4 separate regions of the Homo sapiens genome follow, and regions 1, 3 and 4 are each linked to region 2. Evidence: promoter capture Hi-C in 16 types of primary human blood cells and fetal thymus (Javierre and others, 2016). All regions are on one chromosome and are shown on one strand. Each heading gives the region's core, a stretch centred on a gene start or on the middle of the fragment in contact. The rest is flanking DNA. Distances are from core to core; before and after follow the strand shown.

Region 1 (3,300 bases), core at 35-2,534, 190 kb after region 2:
AAAGCCGGGCAGAGACACAACCAAAAAAGAGAATTTTAGACCAATATCCTTGATGAACATTGATGCAAAAATCCTCAATAAAATACTGGCAAACCGAATCCAGCAGCACATCAAAAAGCTTATCGACCATGATCAAGTGGGCTTCATCCCTGGGATGCAAGGCTGGTTCAATATACGCAAATCAATAAATGTAATCCAGCATATAAACAGAGCCAAAGACAAAAACCACATGATTATCTCAATAGATGCAGAAAAAGCCTTTGACAAAATTCAACAACCCTTCATGCTAAAAACTCTCAATAAATTAGGTATTGATGGGACGTATTTCAAAATAATAAGAGCTATCTATGACAAACCCACAGCCAATATCATACTGAATGGGCAAAAACTGGAAGCATTCCCTTTGAAAACTGGCACAAGACAGGGATGCCCTCTCTCACCGCTCCTATTCAACATAGTGTTGGAAGTTCTGGCCAGGGCAATCAGGCAGGAGAAGGAAATAAAGGGTATTCAATTAGGAAAAGAGGAAGTCAAATTGTCCCTGTTTGCAGACGACATGATTGTTTATCTAGAAAACCCCATCGTCTCAGCCCAAAATCTCCTTAAGCTGATAAGCAACTTCAGCAAAGTCTCAGGACGGAATCATTTTTTAAAAAAATTGGCCGGGCGCGGTGGCTCACGCCTGTAATCCCAGCACTTTGGGAGGCCAAGGCGGGTGGATCACCTGAGGTCAGGAGTTCGAGACCAGCCTGGCCAACATGGTGAAACCCCGTCACTAAAAAAAAAAAAGCCGAGTGTGGTGGCATGCGCTTGTAATCCCAGCCACTCGAGAGGCTGAGGCAAGAGAATCGCTTGAACCCGGGAGGTGGAGGTTGCATTGAGCCGAGATCACGCCACTGCACTCCAGCCTGGGCTACAAAAGCGAAACTCCGTCACACACACACAAAAAACAATCAACCAACCAAACAAAAAACACCTATGCCTCTTCCGGTAGTTGATCTGCTGAAGAATCCTCCTCTAACAGCATTTAGTGCTTAACGCACAAGTGAGCTGGGCACGGTGGCTTACGACTGTAATTCCAGCACTGTGGGAGGCCGAGGAGGAGGATCATTTGTGGCCAGGAGTTCAAGGCCAGCCTGGGCAACATAGTGAGACCCAGTCTACAAAAAGAAAAAAAAAATAGCCGGCCATCGTGGCGCGTGCCTATGGTCCCAACTTACTTGGGAAGGATGAAGGAGGGAATCTTGAGCCTATGAGGTGGAGGCTGCAGTGAGCCATGATTGCTCCACTGTACTCCAGCCTGGGGATAGAGCTAAAGACTGTCTCTAAAAGAAAATCAACAAATGGCTCACTATTGTTCATTGTTTCAAATACAAACTTCCAAACCTGGATGTCTATTTTTAGTAACCTCATTTTTTGATATTTCTGCTAAGCAAATATGCCAATAAATAGCTTGTTTATTTTTACCTCTGCACCTTCCCAGGAGAATTTCTTATTAGAGGGAAGCTGTCTACAAAACTCCCTTCCTCACAGCCTTGCACTTTGACCCAGTAATACTGCTTCCAGAAATCTAGGCCGGACATGCATAAAAATTTATGTTCTACATAGCAATTATTGATAAAAGTGGAACACTGGAAACAAAGATCTAAATATCTTGCAATATGGGATTGTTAAATAAATTATGGTCCATGTAGTATAGACACAGAAATACCAGGTAGCTATTAAAATGGTGTTGTAGTCTTCAATTTTTTTTTAAGGTACCTATTCCTGGTATAGGTTTGTTGTAGCCTTCTATTTTTATACCATAGGAAATTGTGCAAACTACATTGTCAAGTTAAAAAAATAAAGATAATCATTTCTTCTGGTGACATGTAATAGATGCAAAAACGATGTGGTTTCATTTTTTCATTAGAAAGTATAATAGGCGTGGTAGCTCACACCTGTAATCCCAGTACTTTGAGAGGCTGAGGCGGGCAGCTCGCTTGACCACAGGAATTTGAGATCAGCCTGGGCAATGTGACGAAACCCCATCTCTACGAAAAATACAAAAACAAAATTGAGCTGGGCCTGTAGTCTTGGCTACCCAGGATGCTGAGGTGGAAGGATCACCTGAGTCTGGTCAAGGCTGCAGTGAGCCATGATTGCGCCACTGCACTTCATCCAGCCTGGGCGAGAATGAGACCCCGTCTCAAAGAAAAAAAAAAAAAGTATAATAATACCCAGCTCATTACATCATTAAACAAAGTGGGGAGGGCTTGCATGAACTGGTGACAAAGGTGTAGCTTCTACAAAGGATTATGATGAATACAGCTATAGCACCTGAGGTCCAGAAAAACGAACAAAAAACTTCTGTTAAACTTATCTCCTTAACAATTCATTTTTTGATTCTCTTTTCTCTTCTTCTTACAAATTAGTTTAAACCTGAATAAAATCTTTTAATTCAAGCTTTTGTAATATGGAACTTGTACATTATTGAGTAAAACATTTAAAAGTCATGGTAAATGTTAAAATAACTGAGGTTTTATGACAAAATTGAGTCCTTCACATCACATGGGAAAGAATATAAGATTAATCACTGGATTCATTGATTAATTTTTTTGCGTATAAAAGATTTTTTTTTTTTTTTTTTGAGATGGAGTCTTGCTCTGTCACCCAGGCTGGAGTGCAGTGGACCGATCTCGGCTCACTGCAAGCTCCGCCTCCCGGGTTCATGCTATTCTCCTGCCTCAGCCTCCCGAGTACCTGGGACTACAGGCGCCCGCCACCATGCCCGGCTAATTTTTTGTATTTTTCTTAGTAGAGACGGGGTTTCACCATGTTAGCCAGGATGGTCTCGATCTCCTGACCTCATGATCTGACCACCTAGGCCTCCCAAAGTGCTGGGATTACAGGTGTGAGCCACCACGCCTGGCAGCATATAAAAGATTTTTAAGCCTATGAACTTGATTATCTCACTATGACCTGTAATGTTTTTCAAAATGTGTAAGAGCATTTATATCTTAGGGTATACAGTGTGTCTATTGAAATAAATAAAATGGCATATCTTTAAAAATAATTATGGTGAAGTCATTTTGATAGACTAAATTTTGCCTATGCTGTCTTGATTTTGAAATTTGGTACGTTGCGTGGTTACAGTTTGTGAAGCACTTTTCATTTGGGTAACCTCTACTCTCTCCAGTTGCACTTAAAGTCACTTAAAGCCACAGAGAGGTTTTTCTACCTTCAGCACCCATTTTAGGACAATTTCTGGTAATTGCTAAGTAAATGTCAGCTAGTTGACTTCCTGCCTGACCTGTCTTG
Region 2 (3,650 bases), core at 1-2,500:
CTCCGCACACACTAATCTTTGGCTTGCTAAGCCCTGTTCAGATTAGGACAGGTCAAGCTAATTCTTCCCGGTCAAGCTCCCCCATGAAGACTTACTCTTCTGTTTACTGTCTCATTCTGAACTTTCTAAATTCTTCTTCCCCCTAGGTCCACTTTCCTCTTGTAATACTTACCAGATGATTGGGAACCACGGGGCCTGGCTCTCTCAGACTCCAGAATAGTCCCTCCTAACACCTGAAGCAGAGTTCTGACCACGAAGCTGCCATGTGTGTCTCCACAGTAGACAAGAAAATCATCACACACCTCAGCGGCTAGTCCCAGGACCAGCTCCTCCAGGGTCTCCGTGGGACCATCCTTTCCATCCTCCTCCTCCTCCTCCTCCTCCTCTGCAGCACTCCCCAGCAATCGAGGGAGCTGTAGCAAAGCACTTTGTAATACATGGACCCCGCATCGGTGACAGGCCACAGTGCGCAAGTTAGAGCGCAGAGCAGCCCACACGCGACAAAGCGGTTTCAAGGGACTGAATCCCAACAGTTCCTGCAGCATCTCACTGCCAGTCCTGTTCGTGGACAAAGCTAGGGCCTGAGTCTCTACTTCCTTCATTATATTGTGCACCATCAGATCTGAAAAGGGAAGAAAGACACACTTTGAAGAGACTTAGTAGAGAATACAGTTATGTACCCTCGCTTAACCAAGGGTCGTGGGTCGGAGGCCGAGGAAGAGGACATGGGAAATGAAACTAAGTCCCCACGCCCTGCCGACCCTAGAAAGTTTCCTTGCCTGCCCTGGATTTGATGCTCTTGGTCTAAACCCCGAAGTTGCTGCCTACCTCGTTCTTCCCCAGTCTCGGGAGCCTCTTTCAATGCTGACAGCGCCCGGCGGAAATATCCCAGAGCTTCCGGGCTCAGGTGCGGGTGCGAATCTGGAGCCGGCTCCGAGCGCCCATCCGGAGGCGGCCAGGGTTGCCGCTTACGGCCTGGTAAGGGGCGCCCCGACCCCTTGGCCCCGCGCCCCCGTTTGCCACCAGCTGGGAACCGGCGCCCCACCTTGTGTGGAGAGCGCGGACCCTGCCCCATGTGTGCTTCGCGACCTGTCCGGCTGCAAAAGCTTCCTTAACTGCGGACGGACCTTCGACGTCGCCAAGCGTGCGCCTTATCCAGACAAAGTTTAGAAACGCGGGCGCGCTCCTGACGCAGCTACTACGTCATAGTTCCGCGCCGCCCCAGCCGGGCGGGGTGGGTGTGTCACCCAGATCGCTCCGCCCCCATCCGCAGGTTCTAACTTTGGCCTGGGACTCTGCCCCTCTACCTCAGCACAGAATCGCCCCGGGTCCTACTACAGAATCAATCCTTGAACACTGCCTCCACGTCGCCGGCTCAATCTGGGCGAGAACCCAGACTTCCACCGCAGCCCCGCAATCTGCAGACCTCAGCGGCAGCGCAGGTGGCAGGTAAGCGGCGCACGCTCGTCCCACTTAGGGCTTAGGATCTCCAGGCTTCGCGCTCATCCCCGGCCCGGAAGCTGCGCCTCTGGCTCAGCCGGACTGGGTCAGGCCAGGGACCGGAGCTTCAGATAGCCCAGGACTCTGCGTGGACGCGCCCCGAGGGGCTGCCGCGCCAGATTCCCATATCCAGGCAGCCACACTCAGAGGGTTGTAGTAGTTGTCCACCTCTGGACAGTCCCACTCAGCCCCTTCTTCACTCTCTGGGCCTCCCAAAAGACAGTCAGCCTTGTCCTCAGGCCCGCACCCAGTTGTCAGCCTCTGACTCCTCTCCCCTCAAAGGATTCTTACCTTGGCTCCTCCTCTTAGCCCTAGTGAGGTTCTCCCCTACCCCCCAACCTCGCCCCAACACACACACAGTCTCCAGGCTTCCCTCAGAGTAAGTCTTTGCTTCCACAGACCTGCCTCCTTTGCCTGTGAGTCATGGCAGCTCCCATGAATGGCCAAGTGTGTGTGGTGACTGGTGCCTCCAGGGGTATTGGCCGTGGCATTGCCTTGCAGCTCTGCAAAGCAGGCGCCACAGTTTACATCACTGGCCGCCATCTGGACACCCTTCGCGTTGTTGCTCAGGAGGTGAGTGCTTCCTCTGGGACCACAGTTGCAGAAACCACCCGAGAGAGCCCTTCCACTTAACAGCTCCTTTCCTAATCCCTTACCTGAAACTATAATACTACTCAACAAGATGTGAATATTTATTCAAAGTGGAAATTAAAAACCCCGTAAATAACTTCAGGTAAGGTAGAATTTTGCCGCCAAGTGAGTTTTATGAAAAAACTTTGTGTTTGAGCCAGGCATGGTGGCACGTTCCTGCAGTCCCAGCAGCTACTCCGGAGGCTGAGGCAGGAGGATCGCTTGAGCCTAGGAGTTGAGCCATGATCACACCACTGCACTCCAGTCTAGACGACACAGCGAGACACTGTATTAAAAAAAAGAAAAGAAAGAAAAGTAAAAAACTTTTTGTTTGAGAGCAGAGATTTTGGAATTGCAACTAAAGGGTTGTGGACCTGTGCTTTCCTCTATTTCAGGCAAGACTTTATTGAACTGCACATTTTTTACTTATTTACTAGACTTCAGTTAAATAAATATTTGAGTATCCATGATTTGCTAGGCATTGGTAAACCACTGAAGTTACCAAGACTAATAAAATCTAATTTCTGCTCTTCAAAGATTCAGTCCATGGTGGAGTACAGTGGCTCATGCCTGTAGTCCCAGCACTTTGGGTGGCCAAGGCAGCAAGATCACTTGAGGCCAGCAGTTGGAGACCAGTCTGGGCAACATAGCTAGACCCAGTCTCTACAAAAAATATTTTTTAAATAATTAGCTAGGCACAGTGGCCTGCACCTGTAGTACCATCTACTTGGGAGGCTGAGGCAGGAGGATCGTTTGAGCCCAGGAGTTCGAGGTTGCAGTGAGCTATGATTGCACCACTGCACTCCAGCCTGGTGACAGTGAGACCCTGTCTCTAAAAAAAAAAATTTTAATTAAAAATGAAGATAGATTCCAACAGGAAGTCAGGTACAGAAAGCAGTCACTTCAATGTAATGTGAATATGGTAAATTATAAGAGGGAGATATGCACAGAATACTCTAGGGGTGTTGGGGAGCATCCAGATGACATAGGAGAGTGGCTAGGGAAAGTGGTTTGGGAAAGCGTCCTGGAGGAGGTAGGTGGTTCTTGAACTGAGTTTTGAAAGGTAAGAATTAGGTAAAGGAAGTTAGGAAAAGCATTCCAGCAGAGGGAGCTCCATAAGCATAGGGACGCTGTGTGAAAGAGTAGATGTGTGAGATAATGCAAGGGAAGAGTAGTGAGTGAGAGGCTGGAGAGGAAAGAGTGGGTCTTGGAAGACCCTAATAGAGAACTCAGGCTTCATCCTCTAAGAGATGGAGATCCAGTTAGGAGATTTTGAACAGGGTTTGTGTTTTAGATAGGTCGTACTGGCTGGATTATGAAGAATTAATTTAAGGCAGACAGACTGGAGGTCAGGTGAGTCGTTGGGAGGCATTGCAGTAGTTCAGGCAAGGAGGGTAATAGGCGGGGACCCAGAGCATAAATTTGGAGAATAGGAGGATTGTTCTTAGATAAAGGACTCTTCTTCCTCTGAAGTTGGAGGTTTGTGGGCATTTGTAGAGAGTGAGACAGAACAGGAAGTA
Region 3 (3,631 bases), core at 1-2,500, 140 kb after region 2:
CATGCGTTTCCAGTTCTGGAAGTCCTCACAGCTCCGACCTCGGTGCTGCTCCTCCCACTGCCAGAGGGAAAGTAGGCTTCACATGGGAGCTCTATCCCATCCCCTGGCCTTTCTTGCTGGCCCCTCCACTCACATCCAGTGGTTCCCCAGCTTGGTTTATGTCACTGCCACCTACCATTTGCTCAGATCTCAAAATGAGAGGCCATCCTTGGTCCTTTCATTTTCTCCTACCACCTCACACTACTTTTGCCTTGTTTCCACCCCACAGACCATCTCAACCATATCCCCTTTTCCTTCATCCCTACTGCTACCACTTTACTCCAGGCCACCATCAGACCTTGCCTCAATTGCTTGCCTCGGTTACTAGTCTCTCTGTTTCCCATTCCTGCTCCCCTAGGGTCAATTCTCCCCATGGCTGTCAAAAGTCCTTCAAAACTGTAAGTCAGGTAGCTTCCACAGGATTGGTGGTGTTTTGGTTCTGTGGTAGTCTCAGGTGTTCACTTTATTTCAGACATGATGCAGATGAAATTTTTTTCGTATCAAATATTACACTTCTTTTTTTTTTTTTGAGATGGAGTCTCGCTCTGTCACCCAGGCTGGAGTGCAATGGCGTGATCTTGGCTCACTGCAGCCTCCACCTCCTGGGTTCAAGCGATTCTCCTGCCTCAGCCTCCAGAGTAGTTGGGATTACAGGCACATGCCACCACACCCGGCTAATTTTTGTATTTTTAGTAGAGACGGGGTTTCACCATATTGGGAGGCTGGTCTTGAACTCCCAACCTCAAGTGATCCACCCACCATGGCCTCCCAAAGTGCTGGGATTACAGGCGGAAGCCACCATGCCTAGCCAAATATTACACTTCTTAAAAGATAAATGTGGCTGGGCATAGTGGCTCATGCCTGTAATCCCAGTACTTTGGAAGGCTGAGGCGAGGGATCACTTGAGACCAGGAGTTGGAGGCTGCAGTGAGCTGTGACTGCACCAGTGGACCCCAGCCTGGGTGACAGTGAGTTGTCTCTAAAAATAAATAAATAAATAAATAAACGAAAGATAAATGAGATAGTATCACCCTTGCTTTATCTCAGAATGAAGGCAGACGGACGCCTGCTTCACGTGGCCTCCAGGGCTCTACAGACCTGGCAGCTGGCTTCTCTCTGACCACCTGCCATTCCCGCCTTGCTTTCCAGGCTCCAGCCATACAACACTTTTTTCTGATTCTGGCCTTTCCATGTGTTGTTCTTTCTCTCCCAAATGCTCTTTGCATGGCTGGCTTCTTTTTAATGTTTAGGCCTGAGCTTAAACCATTTTAGAGAAGACTTGTCTGACCTCTCTACCCTAAGTAGGTCCACTCTGTTACCCTGATCTCAGGTTCCTGTTTGTTTTCTTCATAGAATTTATGCCTATGTATAATTAGTTCCTCTGGCTTACTTTCTTTCCTTCCTTCCTTCCTCCTCCCCTTTCCTTTCCCTCCCGATTTCCTCCCTCCCTCTGCTTCCCTTTCTCCTTGTGCCTAGTCTTTCTGAGTAGTCTGTAAGCTCTTTTGACCTCAGAGCTCATGTCTGTTTTGCTCTCCAGTACACAAACTCCCCTGAGTCTAACACAGTACCTGGCAGTAGCTCAGCAAGTATTTCTGAAAGGATGAATGTGCCTCACCTGGCGCTTGCAGCGCACACAGAAGGTCTGGTGACACTGGGGACAAGTTGCCTCCAGCTGCTCACGCTCATATATGAAGCCAAAGGAGCACTGGAAGTGCAAGAGCATAAAGTTATCAAAGGCCTGACCTGGAACCATCCCCTGCCCCTCCACAGTAGCTGCCCTGGGCAGGCCACTTACCTGGGCACACCACAAGAACTTGGGGTCCCGCATCAGCACACCCTCGGTCAGCTTCTTATGGAACAACGCATAGGCATCTGGCTCTAGGCTCTCGCGAAGCTGGGGACAGGATGCAGAGGTGGTGGGTGGGAGGGTCCCTGTTCAAAGCTCAGGGTACCTGAGTCCTAGAGGGGCTGCAGTACCTGGATGTCAAGGGTAGAGAAGTAGCTGAGCAACTGTGTGTCATCGGTGAGGTCGGGGCGGCCACAGGCAGGGCACACCATGTCTGTGATGTGCTTCTCCTTCAAGGCGATGGTGAAGTGCTGGCGGAAGCAGTCAGGACAGATGGTGCACTCACAGGAAGTCAGGGCCTGCATCTGGAGGGTGAGGGGTTGGAGGGGAGGGGGTCAGAAGCCACAGCTGCCAGGCTAGGGAAGAGGCAGTGGCCAGGTGTCCACTAAGAAATCAGGGTCTAATTAACAACTGGGCAGGGTTAACAACCTCAAGTGCCAGCAGGGGCCAGGCAGGCAACGTAAACATCTGAAGACAGTCGGGTGGAGGAAAATAGACAATGGTGACACCTAAGGTAAAGGCAAAAGTGCCTATAAAAACATTCATATTCCATTAAATATACAAATAACATGCTTGAAATGACAAAACTATAGAGGTGGAGAACAGCTTCATGGTTGCCAGGTGACTAGAAGTGGGGGCAGAAGGGTATAACTAAAGAGGTACATGAGAGAGTTCCTTTGTGGTGATGAAACAATCTGTATCTTGATTATGGTGGTGGTTATATGCATCCATACGTGGGACAGAACTGCATAGAACCACACATACACACAGCGGCATATCCATGAGAAAAATGAACAAGACCTGTAGTATAGCTAACATTGGAGCAATGTCTTATTTCTTGGTCTTGATATTGTACTATAACTATATAAGAAGTCACCACTGGGGGCCGGGCACGCTGGCTCACACCTGTAATCCCAGTACTTTGGGAAGCCAAGGCGGGCGCATCACTTGAGGCTAGGAGTTCGAGACCAGCCTGGCCAACATTGTGAAACCTTGTCTCTACTAAAAATACAAAAATTAGGCCAGGCACCATGGCTTATGCCTGTAATCCCAGCACTTTGGGAGGCTGAGGCAGGCGGATCACCTGAGATCTGGAGTTCCAGACCAGCCTGACCCGTCTCTACTAAAAATACAAAATTAGCCAAGTGTGGTGGCGCATGCCTGTAATCCCAGCTACTCGGGAGGCTGAGGCAGGAGAATCACTTGAACTCGGGAGGCGGAGGCTGCAGTGAGCCGAGATCGCACCATTGCACTCCAGGCTGGGCAACAAGAGCAAAACTCTGTCTCAAAAAAAAAAAAATTAGCCGGGCATGATTGCAGATGCCTGTAATCACAGCTACTTGGGAGGCTGGGACAGGAGAATCGCTTGAACCGGGAGGCAGAGGTTGCAGTGAGCCATGATTGCGCGACTGCGCTCCAGCCAGGGCGACAGAGCGAGACTCCGTCTCAAAAAAATGTCATCGCTGAGTGAAGGTTAGTGAAAAGTACACAGGACTCTATGCACTATTTTTGAAACTTCCTGTAGATTCTACATTTATTTATTTATTTAATTTATTTTGAGACAGAGTCTCACTCTGTCGCTCAGACTGGAGTGCTGTGGCGCAATCCTGGCTCACTGCAACCTCTGTCTCCCAGGTTCAAGAGATTTTCCTGCCTCAGCCTCCCAAGTAGCTGGGATTACAGGCACCCACTACCACACCCGGCTAATTTTTGTATTTTTTGTAGAGACAGGGTTTCACCATGTTG
Region 4 (3,484 bases), core at 866-3,365, 240 kb after region 2:
CATTGGCATGCCTGGACTCCTGCCCAATCCCTCAAGGCTACTGTCTCTGGCATTTGGGTCCTAAAGGTAAAACTCCTGGCTCTGGTGTCACTGAGTGAAGGGGATCCTCTTGTGAAGCCTTAGGGACTCACACTGGGTCGACCAGGTCCTGGAGGTGTGGTCCTGGGGGGGCGGGGCCTCCCTTGTGTTTGATGCCTTAGTTTGTAACCATGAGTGGGCAGCTCAGATAGACCTTCCCAGGAGCCACTAGCTGTGGGCTGGCTGCCCCCAAGTCCTGAGAACCAGCCAGGGGGGATCCCCAGATTCCCCAGTTGGCTTTCCATGTCCTGAGGGCTCCCGCCTGCAAAGACAGCAGCATTAGAGGGACTAGCAGAGGAATGGGGAGAAAGCAGGATGGGGAGACAGAGAAAAAATCAAGGGAAAGAGGGGCTACAGAGGGCGGGAGTCTGGAGTCCATGAGAACGGAGGCTGGGAGACTCACTGATGAAGGCAGACACCGGCCGAATCTTGCGGCAGCGTTTCTGCTTTTTGATGGCCATGGTGTCCTGCAGAAATGAAGACGAGTGGCAGGGCCAGGCACCTCACCCAGAGCCATCCATTCCTCATGAAACCTTATTTGAGCCCATCCTGCCCCTCGCTCCTCAGGGGGCTGAGGCACTGGGATGAGGGAAGAGGTTGGGCTGGATTGAGATTGGAGGCAGAAGGCCAGGCACAGTGAGGTGGCCAGGGGAGTACAGATCAGTGGAAGGGGACAGTGTTGTGCAGGTTTAAGGGCAGGGCCCAGGTTATTAAGGAGGAGCAGGGAGCGGGGGGCTCACAATGTTGGTCCCAAGTTCATCATCTGTGGTCTCCTCATGGTCATGGTTCCGGCCTCGGCCCCGGGAGGACAGATCCTGCCCTTGGCCTGGGCACCCTGGTGGATCTGACAGCGTCCTTAGCTGGGTCAGGTGCCGGGCCTGGGGAAGGGCAGGTGTGAACAGAATTCCATGGAAGCTGCCCACCTCCCAGGGCCTTGAAGGGGAGGGTGATTAGGGAGACAGGATAATGTGGGGTGGAGGGCGTGCCCGAGCCAGGCCAGGCTGCAGAAGAAGCCTTACCAGGCTCTTGTGGGAATGGTAGAGCTCTTGCAGGATCTCATCCACTATGGAGCTGGTTAGGTAGGTGACGACTGAGAGCTTCACTTCACTGTGGGCACAGGTGGGGCTACTCAGAACATTAGCACCTCAGTCCCCCGCATGGCCCCTGAGGCACTCCCTCTCCCAGAAGCCTGAGAGAACGGCCAGCTGGCCTGGTCTGTCTGCCCATGGAGCGCATGTGGCTGCTGAAGGAGGCAGCCTAGCCCTTGACACTCATTTCTCCACAAATACACGTCTAGTCCCACCCCAGAGCCCCCAGCCCAACTATGTGTGGGGAAAGAGGAATTCGAGGAGAAGGAGCAAGGGGGCCCTAGGTCAGGCCCCTGGAGCCCCAGTGGAACAGAGCTAGGTAATTGGGGTGCTGAGTAACTAAACCCTGCTAGTTGCTACTGTGAGGGTAGGAAAGACCCTTCCTTGGGCCTAGCTGTTTCATAGGTATGTGTACTAGTTTTCCTTTGGTTTGGTGAGTGGTGGCACCCAGACCCAGAATGAAAGAACTCTAGGGGCAATGAAAACTGGGAGGAAGACAGTGCTTCCATGCACCCAACTCAGGTACTTTTCTTTGTCCATGCCTCCGAGGAGGCCCTGCTATCCCATTCCTGGTGTATTTGTGTGGGTATGTGTGTGTACACCTGTGTGGGCACAAACTTGGCTCCTAAACCCCAGCTCAGCACTTAGATTTCTAGGGCAAAGACCAGCCAGACCCTAAATAGCAAGGTTGCACTTGGTTAAAGATTGATCCTTGTAATGGAGATTGTGCCATTCATTATTCATTGCTGATAGCTCTCCAGTCCTAAGTCCCTAAGTGATCTGGGCCAAATCCAGCTCAGCCCCAGCCCTGCCCTTTGCCTCTCACTCCAGCTTGTTCTGAATGTCCTGTCCTGCTTGCTCCAGCAGTGCCCCTCGGATGAAGTTCCGGGGCACAGTGACACGCTCCGCCACATTGCTCAGCATCTTGTTGTGTCCCTCGGCCACCCGCATGGCCACAGGGCATAACTCCTGTGTCAGGCTGACCATGGACTCCAGGATCACCTAGTATGGGGGAAAGGGAGGCCAGAGGCCCAAGGGGGACAGGATCAGGGCTGGCACCACAGCAGAAGAGACTTTATCTATTCCAGCCCCTCCTGCTGAGACTGAGGGACCTGCCTAAGTCACAAAACTGTTAGTGGCAGAGCCTTGGACACTAAGGCTTCCCCACTTTCTGGTCAGTGCTCCTTCCACCCTACCATACAGACAGGGGCAGTCAGTCCAAGGATCCAAATCCAGAGCAGGGAGGTCAGAGTTCAGGGACCAACATCAAAGCTAGCAGAAAAAAATCCAAGCCTGATATTGCAGCAATGCCTTGGTACAGTGGGAGCGTGGGTGGTCTCAACTCTGCATGTCCTCCTGGCCCTCCAGAAGTCTCCCAGCTCTGACTTTAGCTCTGGGCTTAGGGCCTCAGTCAACACTAGGTTCCCACCATGGATTCCTCCCTCCTCCAGGACTTGCCTGCAGCTCCTTGTCCACAGCTTTGGACACCTCACTTGCTACTGATTCCAGCCTCTGCCGCACAGGCCCATCATTGGCCAGCACGTGGCCCAGCTCATAGAGGCTGGGAAACAGCTGGAGAAGGAAGGGGTTATGATTAGCAGGCCAGAACCAGGACTTGCTAGGTCTCTGGGGTCCCTGGGCTAGGAAGGCAGATGCACAGGGCAGGGCTGTCATGGCTTAGCATGGTCGGCCTTCTTGGGTTCTCCAGACTTCAGGGGAAGGGTAGCCTGTGGAGGGCTCACCGCCCGGGAGTTCTTGGCATCTTTGATGAGGTCCCGAGCGTAGAGTAGCTCATCCTGCACAGGCTCCAGGGGGCATAGTCTCAGGGCCCGCACCTCCTCCTGCACTCGTCCACACAGCCGCTGCAGCATCTGGAGCACAGTGGCAGGGGTGTCAAGGGGACCCCTGCTTCCACATCTTCGCAGGTAGGACCCCTTAGACAGTGCTACTGGTGCTGGCACCGACAGTGGTGGAGGTGATGTCTCTGGCTGGCCTGGTCCCCATTGCTACAGCCTTCTTGAATGCCCAGCTGAGCTCCCAGAGTCCTGTGCACTCCTGCTGTTCGCCCACATATGTTTGAAGCCCATATCCTGCATGTCCTCTCTTTTTGCTTCCCCACATGCTCAGTCCAGTGATAGGCACCATGCAGTGCCTCTTCATGCTCCCCCACTCAATTTTCCATCACATCACACTGTGCCCTGCATGCCCCGGGTATGCCCCGTGTCCCAGAGGGAAACGTTTACTTGCTCGGCGCTGCTGGTCACCAGGCCCTGCTGCAACCTGAAGGCCTGCTCCTGGGGGCACGTCTGGGAGTGGTT

Evidence for each region. Contacts are between HindIII fragments. The CHiCAGO score rates a contact against its expected background, and 5 or more counts as called.
Region 1: a contact is called between a fragment that was not itself captured here and the fragment with the promoter of DHRS1 in region 2, in 9 of 17 cell types (naive B cells, naive CD8 T cells, activated CD4 T cells and 6 more). The highest score is 9.3, in naive B cells.
Region 3: a fragment that was not itself captured here is called in contact with the fragment with the promoter of DHRS1 in region 2 in 8 of 17 cell types (naive CD8 T cells, activated CD4 T cells, naive B cells and 5 more); the score reaches 8.1 in naive CD8 T cells.
Region 4: a contact is called between a fragment that was not itself captured here and the fragment with the promoter of DHRS1 in region 2, in 2 of 17 cell types (activated CD4 T cells and naive B cells). The highest score is 6.8, in activated CD4 T cells.

What each region holds. Positions count from the first base shown.
Region 1 is chr14:24,109,027-24,112,326 of GRCh38, reverse strand. The region is part of intron 1 of NRL (neural retina leucine zipper); the gene reads left to right. Among named protein-coding and RNA genes, the nearest start is that of DCAF11, 4.1 kb to the left of the region's middle. RefSeq lists an enhancer at 3,253-3,300. The HindIII fragment of the contact is 2,327 bases long and covers 121-2,447 here.
Region 2 is chr14:24,297,380-24,301,029 of GRCh38, reverse strand. It overlaps DHRS1 (dehydrogenase/reductase 1), which reads left to right and starts at 1,250. Exons shown (of 9, transcript NM_001136050.3): 1 at 1,250-1,449; 2 at 1,900-2,073. The coding sequence starts at 1,924. NOP9 (NOP9 nucleolar protein) reads right to left here and starts at 1,180. Exons shown (of 10, transcript NM_174913.3): 1 at 829-1,180; 2 at 173-622. The coding sequence starts at 1,075. RefSeq lists an enhancer at 1,906-2,696. The HindIII fragment of the contact is 3,784 bases long and covers 1,109-3,650 here.
Region 3 is chr14:24,153,716-24,157,346 of GRCh38, reverse strand. RNF31 (ring finger protein 31) reads right to left here. Exons shown (of 21, transcript NM_017999.5): 12 at 2,017-2,190; 13 at 1,835-1,933; 14 at 1,655-1,744; 15 at 1-57. Among named protein-coding and RNA genes, the nearest start is that of IRF9, 5.7 kb to the left of the region's middle. The HindIII fragment of the contact is 7,637 bases long and covers 1-3,631 here.
Region 4 is chr14:24,060,181-24,063,664 of GRCh38, reverse strand. It overlaps CARMIL3 (capping protein regulator and myosin 1 linker 3), which reads right to left. Exons shown (of 40, transcript NM_138360.4): 24 at 3,410-3,484; 25 at 2,909-3,037; 26 at 2,625-2,738; 27 at 1,993-2,168; 28 at 1,098-1,185; 29 at 819-956; 30 at 482-545; 31 at 132-340. Among named protein-coding and RNA genes, the nearest start is that of CPNE6, 9.6 kb to the left of the region's middle. The HindIII fragment of the contact is 4,487 bases long and covers 1-3,484 here.